2 separate regions of the Homo sapiens genome follow, and region 2 is linked to region 1. Evidence: promoter capture Hi-C in human tissues and cell types (Jung and others, 2019). All regions are on one chromosome and are shown on one strand. Each heading gives the region's core, a stretch centred on a gene start or on the middle of the fragment in contact. The rest is flanking DNA. Distances are from core to core; before and after follow the strand shown. Region 1 holds the start of NLE1 (notchless homolog 1). Region 2 overlaps RAD51D (RAD51 paralog D).

Region 1 (6,460 bases), core at 3,513-6,012:
GCTGGGTCAGACTGGGAATTCCCCCGAGACCAAGGGTCCTCCCCACCCGACTGGAAACTATCCTGGGACACACTGAGGCTCCCTCCTCAGAAGGGGGTCTTCCTGGGACAAGAACTATGTATTCACCATTGCAGAGGGGTCTCTCCTGAGGCAGGAATGTTTCTCCTTAGCTAACTGGGAGTTCCTGAAGCAAATTTATGACGTTGTCCCCAGTTGGACCCAGAACTCTTCTGCATTTCAGTGCCCTCAAGCCTGGGCTGTGAGCTTCCTCCTGGAAGGCAAAGACAGCATCCCATATAGCTTGTCCCCCAACCCCCTTCCTGCACAGGTTCTGGCACATTCAGTGTCCGAAGTGTGTTTCCTGAATGGAATGAATGGATGGATGAATGAATGAATGAATGAATGGTGTCTTCATGATGATGATTTCCTCCACTCACCTCTCATCCCTCTCCCCTCCACCCCACACATATCTTCAAACTTATCTGGCCAGAGCTGAGAAAGACACTGAAGAAAATCCCAGGTGGAATCATTCATACTAGATTCTACTCGCAGACCTGTGACCTTGGACACACAGCTATATGACCTTGGACAAGTTGTAGCGCCCTGCTGGACACAAAGCCCAGCCCTAACACATGTTTGTTGAATGAGCAAATAAATGAATGAATAGATGGATGAATTCCCTGCCTTCATGTTATCACAAGCCCTGGGCCCTTTTGTGGGGCAAGCTCTCTGCAGCAATGAGGTAATAGGATAAAGGATCCTGACATTGGCAGAGACCTGCGGTTCTGTGACTTTAGGTCCAAGGGATCTTATATTCAAATGCTGATTCAGTAATTCATTCCACAAGCATTTCTTAAACATCTTTTTGTTGTTGTTGTTGTTGTTGTTTGAGACAGAGTCTTGCTCTGTTGCCCAGGCTGGAGTGCAGTGGCACGATCTCGGCTCACTGCAACCTCCACCTTCTGGGTTCAAGAGATTCTCCTGCCTCAGCCTCATGAGTAGCTGGGATTACAGACATCCACCACCATGCCTGGCTAATTTCTGTATTTTTAGTAGAGATGGAGTTTCACCATGTTGGCCAGGCTGATCTTGAACCCCTGACCTCGTGATCCACCTGCCTAGGCCTCTCAAAGTGCTGGGATTACAGGCGTGAGCCACCGCGCCTGGCCCACATTTCTTAAACATTTATTATGTGTGAGGAACTGTGAAGCATAGAACACTGGTGAGGACAAGGATTTGTGTCTATGTTGTTCCCTCACATATTCCAAGCGTTTGTAATGGTGTGGGGCACAGTGGCTGACACCTGTAATCCCAGCACTTTGGGAGGCCAAGGCAGGCGGATCACCTGAGGTCAGGAGTTCCAGACCAGCCTGGCCAACATGGCGAAACTCCATCTCTGCTAAAAACACAAAAGTTAGCCGGGCATGGTGGCGGGTGCCTGTAATCCCAGCTACTAAGGAGTCTGAGGCAGGAGAATCACTTGAACCCCAGAGGCAGAGGTTGCAGTGAGCCAAGATCATGCCACTGCACTCCAGCTTTGGTGACAGAGCAAGATTCCATCTCAAAAAAGAAGAAAAAATAAAAAGAAGGTGCTCAATGCTATTTGTTGAATGAATGAATGAATGAAATAATTCCATGGATCTGTGATTCTGTGATTTCTTTTTTTTGTTCGTTTGTTTGTTTTGGTTTTTTTTTTAATTGAGACAGGGTCTCGCTGTCACAAGTGGAAAGCAGTGGCATGATCACGGCTGACTGCAGCCTTGACCTCCCAGGTTCAAGCAATTCACCCATCTCAGCCTCCTGAGTAGCTGGGACTATAGGTGCATGCCACCTGGCTATTTTTTTTGTAGAGACATGATCTCACCATGTTGCCCAGTCTGGTCTCAAACTCCTGGGCTCAAGTGATACTCCCACCTCGGCCTCCCAAAGTGCTGAGATTACAGGTGTGAGCCACTGTGCCAGCTGGATCTGTGATTTCTAAATGTGAGGAATACCAGGATGTTTTGAAAACATACAACAGGGAAATATGACATCATATGACATCATTTCAAAGGTTTCCCTGCGTAAGTGATAAATGAGTTGATACACATAGAACTCCGACAACGTCTGGCAGAGAGTAGGCACTCAATACATTTATTGGATGAATGAATAAATATTCAAGGCAAGACCTGAAGAATGAGGAACTATTCCTGTATTAGTTGGCTCTGGCTACCATAACAAAATAGCACAGACAGGGAGGCTTCAACAACAGAAATTTATTTTCTCACAGCTCTGGAGTAGAGAAATCCAAGGTCAAGGTGCCATGAGGGTTGGTTTCTGGTGAGGCCTCTCTTCCTGGATGCAAACAGCCACCTTCTCACTGTGTCCTACTATGGCCTCATCTTTGTGTGTGCTCAGGGAGGCAGTGCGGGGGGCGGGGAGAGACAGAGAGAGAGTACTCTGGAGTCTCCTCATTTCACAAGGGCACCAGTTCTATCTGATTAGTGTCCTACCCATACAAACTCACTTATTAACCCTTCCTATGTCCTTTCAGGGCCCATCTCCAGGCCAGGCATGGTGGCTTACACCTGTAATCCCAGCACTTTGGAAGGCCTAAGACAGGAAGATCATTTGAGGCCAAGAGTTCGAGACCAGCTTAGGCAACAGAGTGACAGCCTTGTCTCTACAAAAATTTTTAAAAGTTAGCCGAGTGTCAGGTATAGTGGCACACACCTGTTGTCCTAGCTACTCAGAACACTAAGGTAAGAAGAGCACTTGAGCCTGGGAGTTTGAAGCTGTGTGAGCTATGATCACACTACTACACTCTAGTCTGGGCAACAGAGTGAGACCCTGTCTCTAAAAAAAAAAAAAAAAAACAATAATAATAATATATGCTATCTCCAAATACAGCCACATTCAGAGCTAGGGCTTCAATATATAAATTAGGGCAGAGGCGTCCAATCTTTTGGCTTCTCTGGGCCACAGTGGAAAAAGAATTGCCTTGGGCTACACATAAAATACACTAATGATAGCTGATGAGCTGAAAAAAAAAATCGAAAGAAAATCTCATAATGTTTTAAGAAAGCTTACGAATTTGTGTTGGGCTGCATTCAAAGCCATCCTGGGCTGCATGCAGCCTGTGGCCCAGGGGTTGGACAAGCTTGAATTAGGGGAAGGGCACAATTCACTCCATAACAGTTCCAGACAGAAAAAACTGCATGGGCAAAATCACTGATGCAGGAAGAGCCATGCCTTGTAAGAACTCAGAAAAAGCCAGCAAGATTTAACCTAAAGAGAGGGGTGGCTGGACATAGCAAGGCTGAATTGACCATTATAAGGAGTGTTCTTTTTTTCCTGCATGTAAGGGAGCCGTCGCAGGGTTTGAGGGTGAAGAGCAGCAGGCCAGATTTTTGGTCTGAAAAGATAACCCTGGCTGCATCGTGGAGAATGGGTAGAAAGAGGCAGGAATGGAAATGGGGGGGCTCATCGGGAGGCTGTTGTAGCGGTCCAGGCAGGTGATGATGGTGACTCTGACCAGAGTGAGGCAGTGGAGATGGGGAGAGCAGATTCAAGCTGTGTTCATGAGGATGACTTGGCAGAGCTTGAGACTGCCTGAGCAGTGGAGGGAGAGAGAGGAGAGTTGGCAAGGGAGATCCTTCGTTTCAGGCAAAAGAGCTCAAGTTCATTGCTGTCTGCTTCAGTTCCTCAGTAATATGGGGAGAAAAGGGTTGTAAGAATTAAATGAGTTATGTGGGAAAGCACTTAGAACAATTCCTGACTTGTTGATGTCATTATCACTATTATTGCTTTACAGCATTGATGATTGTAGAAATGATTTGCTTTTGTACTCGAGTATTATTGAGTTGATCCATTTTATTTATTTATTTATTTATTTATTTATTTATTTATTTATTTATTTATTGAGACAGAGTCTTGCTCTGTCATCCAGGCTGGAGTGCAGTGGTGAGAGCTCGGCTCACTGCAACCTCTGCCTCCCAGGTTCAAGAGAATCTACCACCTCAGCCTCTCCAGTAGCTATGACCACAGGCGCATGCCACCACGGCTGGTTAATTTTTTTGTATTTTTAGTAGAGACCTGGTTTCACCATGTTGGCCAGGCTGGTCTCGAACTCCTGGACTCAAGTGATCTGCTCGCCTGGGCCTTCCAAAGCGCTGGGATTACAGGTGTCAGCCACCACGCCCAGCCTTGACTTGATCCATTTTTAAAAGGATACTAATTTCTAGGCTAGGCGTGGTGGCTCACACCTGTAATCCCAGCACTTTGGGACACTGAGGCTGGGGAGTGGGGGACTTGCTGCTTGAGTTCAGGAGTTTGAGACCAGCCTGGGCAACATAGTGAGACCTCGTCTCTACAAAAAATGAGAAAAAAATAACCGGGCAGGGTGTCATGTGCCTGTAGTCCAGGCTACTCTGAGGCTGAGGTGGGAGGATCGCTGTGCCAGAAAGTTCGAGACTGCAGTGAGCCGTGGTGGCACCACTGCCCTCCAGTCTGGGCGACGGAGTGAAACTCTGTCTCAAAATGAAATTAAATTAAAATGGGGCAAGAATCCCTGTTGTGAAGAGTCAAAAGTTTACTGTGTCCTCTAAGACCCTGGCGAAAAATAAATGTGAAGGCTGTTGAGGGGCGGGAGGAGCACCAGGTAAGCCCATTTCTAATCCCTGAGGCCGTGCGCAGCGGGACGCTTCTCCTCCCCAACAGCAGAGGGCGATGTGGCCGGCGGCGACCCCGCCCGACCACGGAGACGGCGCTCTGTCTGCCGGGCTCTTTCTCCTCCACGTGGGGACGCAGGATGGCGGCAGCAGTGCCGGTGGGTGTGCGTGGATGGGGGCGGGGGGCGTCGCCGCGGGGCGCTAGGGCCCGGGTCCCTGAGGCCTGAGAGAGGCGAAGTGGGGCCCTTCTGGGCGGGCGACCAGACTGACTCCCGCCCCACTTGCTCGCGCAGGACGAGGCGGTGGCGCGCGATGTGCAGCGGTTGCTAGTGCAGTTCCAGGATGAGGGCGGGCAGCTGCTGGGTTCCCCGTTCGACGTGCCCGTGGACATCACCCCGGACAGGCTGCAGCTCGTGTGCAACGCGCTACTGGCCCAGGTAAGTGGCTGGCCAGGGCGGCCTCGCATCTCCACCCCCGGGCGGATGCGGTGGGGGAATCATATTACCGAGGGTCTGCGGTTCATGGTCCCCCGCTAACGGACTGTGGTGACCCACCTGGCGTGAGCTCCCACCTATGTCAGAGATGGAATCAGTGGCATAGCGCTTTACACGCCAACCAAAGGGGTCCACCTGCGGAGAGGGGCCTAGCTTTGAACGCACCGGATGCTGTATTTCATTGATTCTTTGTCACAGTCCCCCAGTCTGGGACACGTTAATATCCCCATTTTACAGCGTGGCCCGGAGGGACTCAGTATTTTGCACGATGCTATGTAGTAGGTAGCAGATTTGGAATTGGAACCCAAAACTATCCGAATACCCATGCTTTTATTTATTTATTTATTTACCTTTTTTTTTTTTTTTTTTGAGACGGAGTCTCACTTTGTCGCCAGGCTGGCAAGCTGGAGTGTAGTGGCGTGATCTCTGCTCACTGCAATCTCTGCCTCCCAGGTTCAAGCGATTCTCCTGCCTCAGCCTCCCGAGTAGCTGGGACTACAGGCGCGCGCCACCACACCCAGCTAATTTTTGTATTTTTAGTGGGGACTGGGTTTCACCACGTTGGCCAGGATGGTCTCGATCTCTTGACCTCGTGATCCTCCCGCCTTGGCCTCCAAAGTGCTGGGGATTACTGGCGTGAGCCACCGCACCCGGCCTTTGCTTTTAACCTTTAAGCCAGTGTGTTTACTGAAGAGCTGCCCTGGGGACAGGGGAGGTCCTTAAAATTGCAGTTCCTGGACCCCATCCCAGCCTTACTAAACCAAACTCTGGGATGAAGCAGAAAGTCTACATTTTTTAACAGGCGTTTTGGGAGCTTTTTACACAAATATAGTGTAGTGTGGTAGTTTGGGAAACACTGCATAATGCTATATGCTAATCCTATCTTGGACGTAAAGAACCTGAATTAATCATTGGCAATAGGACATTGAACTAATTACTTAGTTGTTCTGAGCCTCTGCTTTTGAAAACTGTCAGTGGGAATATTAGTATCTACTTCCCACGGTTGTTATGAGATGCAGATAAAGAATTTCAGGCCGGGTGCAGTGGCTTATGCCTGTAATCCCAGTACTTTGGGAGGCTGAGGTGGGCAGATCACTAGAGGTCAGGAGTTCGAGACCAGCTTAGCCAATATGGCGAAAACAGTCTCTACTGAAAATACAAAAATTAGCCAGGCGTGGTGGCAGGCGCCTGTAGTCCCAGCTCCTCGGGAGGCTGAAGCAGGAGAATTGCTTGAACCCAGGAGGCAGAGGTTGCAGTGAGCTGAGATCTCACCACTGCACTCCAGCCTGAGTAACAGAACGAGACTCCATCTCAAAA
Region 2 (2,994 bases), core at 1-2,500, 37 kb after region 1:
TCCTTGCCTTCAAACTTGCTGTTCTATTAATACATCTCGTATTCCTTAAGCCACCCCTGTTGATGCCATCATCCCATTTGGGATGCTACTCACACTGATTCTTCCAGGAAACCCTCCCAACTCTTTGCATGCCCTAAACCAGGGCTGGCAAACACCAAGCTTTGTGTTTCCAGTCCATTTCTCACCTGTGAGAGACATCACTAATCAGTCATATCCCTCTTTCCTGCTGAGTTCTGAGTACTTTACAGCTCAGCACCCAGGCAGCCACCACTGTGACAACTGACCATTAGACAAAGCTCATTTGCCACCCTGGACCTGAGTCCTTGCATCCAGGTGCCTCTTCCTTCTCAGCCTTACCTTGACCCCCCTACTCCCTCTTATCCAAAGTCCTTGCTTTTCTTTTCCACCGCTTCAGGCAGAAGCTCTCCGGAGGATCCAGGTGGTGCATGCATTTGACATCTTCCAGATGCTGGATGTGCTGCAGGAGCTCCGAGGCACTGTGGCCCAGCAGGTGAGCCTGCTGTTCTGCCCCTCCTTGCTTAATTCAGCTTTCTAGGTGCTATCTCTGTGGGCAGGTGTCCTACTACAGACTGTTTGGAAATGCAGATGTGCAATCTGGTGACTCCAACTATGCTTGCTACTCCCAGGATGGAATTCCCGAGCACCTAAATCACATACCTCATTGTTTACATGTTCATCTTCCCTGCTGAACAGTAAAGCCCCCTGAGTGGAAGGATCATGTCATATTTATGTCTGCATTCCCCACTAGGTGAGTGAGGAATACTTTTAGCTGCAAGTAATAGAGGTTGTCTGACAGAGACTTGAAGCTTGAGGACATTTAATTATGTCACATGAGTTGGGAGGTTGGCAGGTCCATGCTATCAGGGCAATAGATTTGTGTGTCTGATTTTCTTGTTCTTCCCCTCATGGTTGCAAAGAGGCTGCCAAAGCTCCAAGCATCTTGTCTTCACACATCCACATCCATATTCAAGGCAGTAAAAGATAGATGGTTCTTTTCTGTACCTCCTCCCTTTTATCAGGGATGAAGAATCTTTCTCCAGAGCCCACTAATAGACGTCCCTCTTCCCCTTACATCTAGTTGGCCAAAATGGGGTTATGTGTGTATCTTGGACTAAGACCTGGGCCCACCATCCCTGAAGTCAGATTTCTGCCCAGTCGCTGAACACATTCAGAGTCATGTTAATGGGAAGGATTTAGAATGGCATTTGGGTTGGCACTTTGCTACTCATGTTGGGTGCTTAGACAGGATTTGGTGCACTGATTTATAAATGACTAGATGTGGAGGATACCTTAAAGATAGAATAGTTTATCTCAAACTTTTCCTCTCACCCCAAAGCATGACGTGTTCACACGGGCATCCCCACGACTATATATAAAGTCAATGATTTTTACAAACTTTAGAACATATAATAGTTGAACAAGCTGGGAGTGGTGGCCCACACCTGTAATCCTAATGACTCCAGAGGCTGAGACGGGAGGATTGCTTGAGCCTAGCAGTTGGAGGTTGCAGTGAGCTATGATCATACCACTGTACCTTAGCCTGGTCAGCAGAGCTAGACCCCGTCTTTAAAAAAAAATGTTGAACAAATACTTACCTCAGAAGTCATAGCTGGTTATGACCCACCAGCTTGTTGAGACATGAAGCTGAGTAGTGCTTACCTCACTTTTAGAGATGAGAAGAGTGAAGGCCGGAGAAGTGAAGTGAGTTGACCAAAGTTGACCAAATATTTAGGGCAAGAACTAACCTTATAGCCCAAACCTCTCAATTCCAGATCAGAAGACTGTATTTTTTACTGTAGGACCATTAGATGATATATCTTCTATTATTGCATAATAAGTTACCAAAACCTTAGTGGCTTAAGACATAGTATTTCTTATCTCACAGTTTCTAGGGGTTAAGAATCTGAGACTAGGAGCGGTGGCTCACGCCTAAAATCCCAATGCTTTGGAAGGCCAAGGCAGGAGGATCACTTGAGCCCAGGAGTTCAGGACCAGCCTGGGCAGCATAGCAAGACCCTGTCTTAAAAAAAAAAAAAAGAAAAAGAAAGAAGAAAAGAAAAAGAACCAGAATCAGGATATAAGAAGTAAGGGAGAAGAGAAAAGAAGCATCAAAAACAGTTTAAGTCCAGGGAAACCAGGAGGATTCTCCTGCTTGTGTAAAGACAGAAAATTATGGTTAGAAAGATGGCACAGGCTAGGCTTGGTGGCTCATGCCTGTAATCCTGGCATTTTGGGAGGCCAAAGTGGCCAGATCACTTGAGGCCGGATTTCGAGACCAGCCTGGCCAACACGGTAAAACCCCGTCTCTGCTAAAAATACAAAAATTAGCACCCGTAGTGTGCACCCAATGTGTGCACCCATAGTCACAGCTACTTAGGAAGCTGAGGCATGAGAATCGTTTGAACCGAGGAGGCAGAGGTTGCAGTTAGCTGAGATCATGCCACTGCACTCCAGCCTGGGTGACAGAGCAAGACTTAGGGAATTTATTTGGAGGCATTTTAGATACGGAAGATGAGGCCTAGAGGCATGATCTAGAAGGAGACAGTGAAGTAAAGAGAAGGCTAAACTCTTCAGCAAAGGAAGTTAGGAATTTGAGGGTGGTAGTTAGCAGGACAAGGGAAAGAAAGGAGGGAGTCAGAAAAGGAAAAGAAGGGCCTTACCACCATGGTGGGAGGCTGGACACAGGAGAGAGATGGCTGCTGAGAGATCCATGACCAGAGGCCTCAGGACTCTCTGCGGAGCTTTCTGAAATTTGATGACTTTAATGTAGTTTTTAGTTATTTTATTTTATTTTTTTTGAGACAGAGTCTTGCTCTGTCGCCCAGGCTGGAATGCAGCGGTGTGATCTCAGTTCACTGCAACCCCCGCCTCCCAGTTTCAAGCGATTCTCCTGCCTCAGCCTCCTGAGTAGCTGGGATTACAGGTGTGCACCACCACGCCCAGCTAATTTTTGTATGTTTAGTGGAGACGGGG

Evidence for each region. Contacts are between HindIII fragments. The study calls those that stand out against the background at their distance.
Region 2: a fragment that was not itself captured here is called in contact with the fragment with the promoter of NLE1 in region 1 in 1 of the 25 tissues and cell types used here (ovary).

Annotation. Positions count from the first base shown.
Region 1 is chr17:35,140,605-35,147,064 of GRCh38, reverse strand. It overlaps NLE1 (notchless homolog 1), which reads left to right and starts at 4,762. Exons shown (of 13, transcript NM_018096.5): 1 at 4,762-4,807; 2 at 4,943-5,086. The coding sequence starts at 4,790. RefSeq lists an enhancer at 4,454-5,331. The HindIII fragment of the contact is 6,679 bases long and covers 550-6,460 here.
Region 2 is chr17:35,103,903-35,106,896 of GRCh38, reverse strand. It overlaps RAD51D (RAD51 paralog D), which reads left to right. Exons shown (of 10, transcript NM_002878.4): 6 at 416-511. RAD51L3-RFFL (RAD51L3-RFFL readthrough) reads left to right here. Exons shown (of 7, transcript NR_037714.1): 2 at 416-511. Among named protein-coding and RNA genes, the nearest start is that of RAD51D, 14 kb to the left of the region's middle. The HindIII fragment of the contact is 7,239 bases long and covers 1-2,994 here.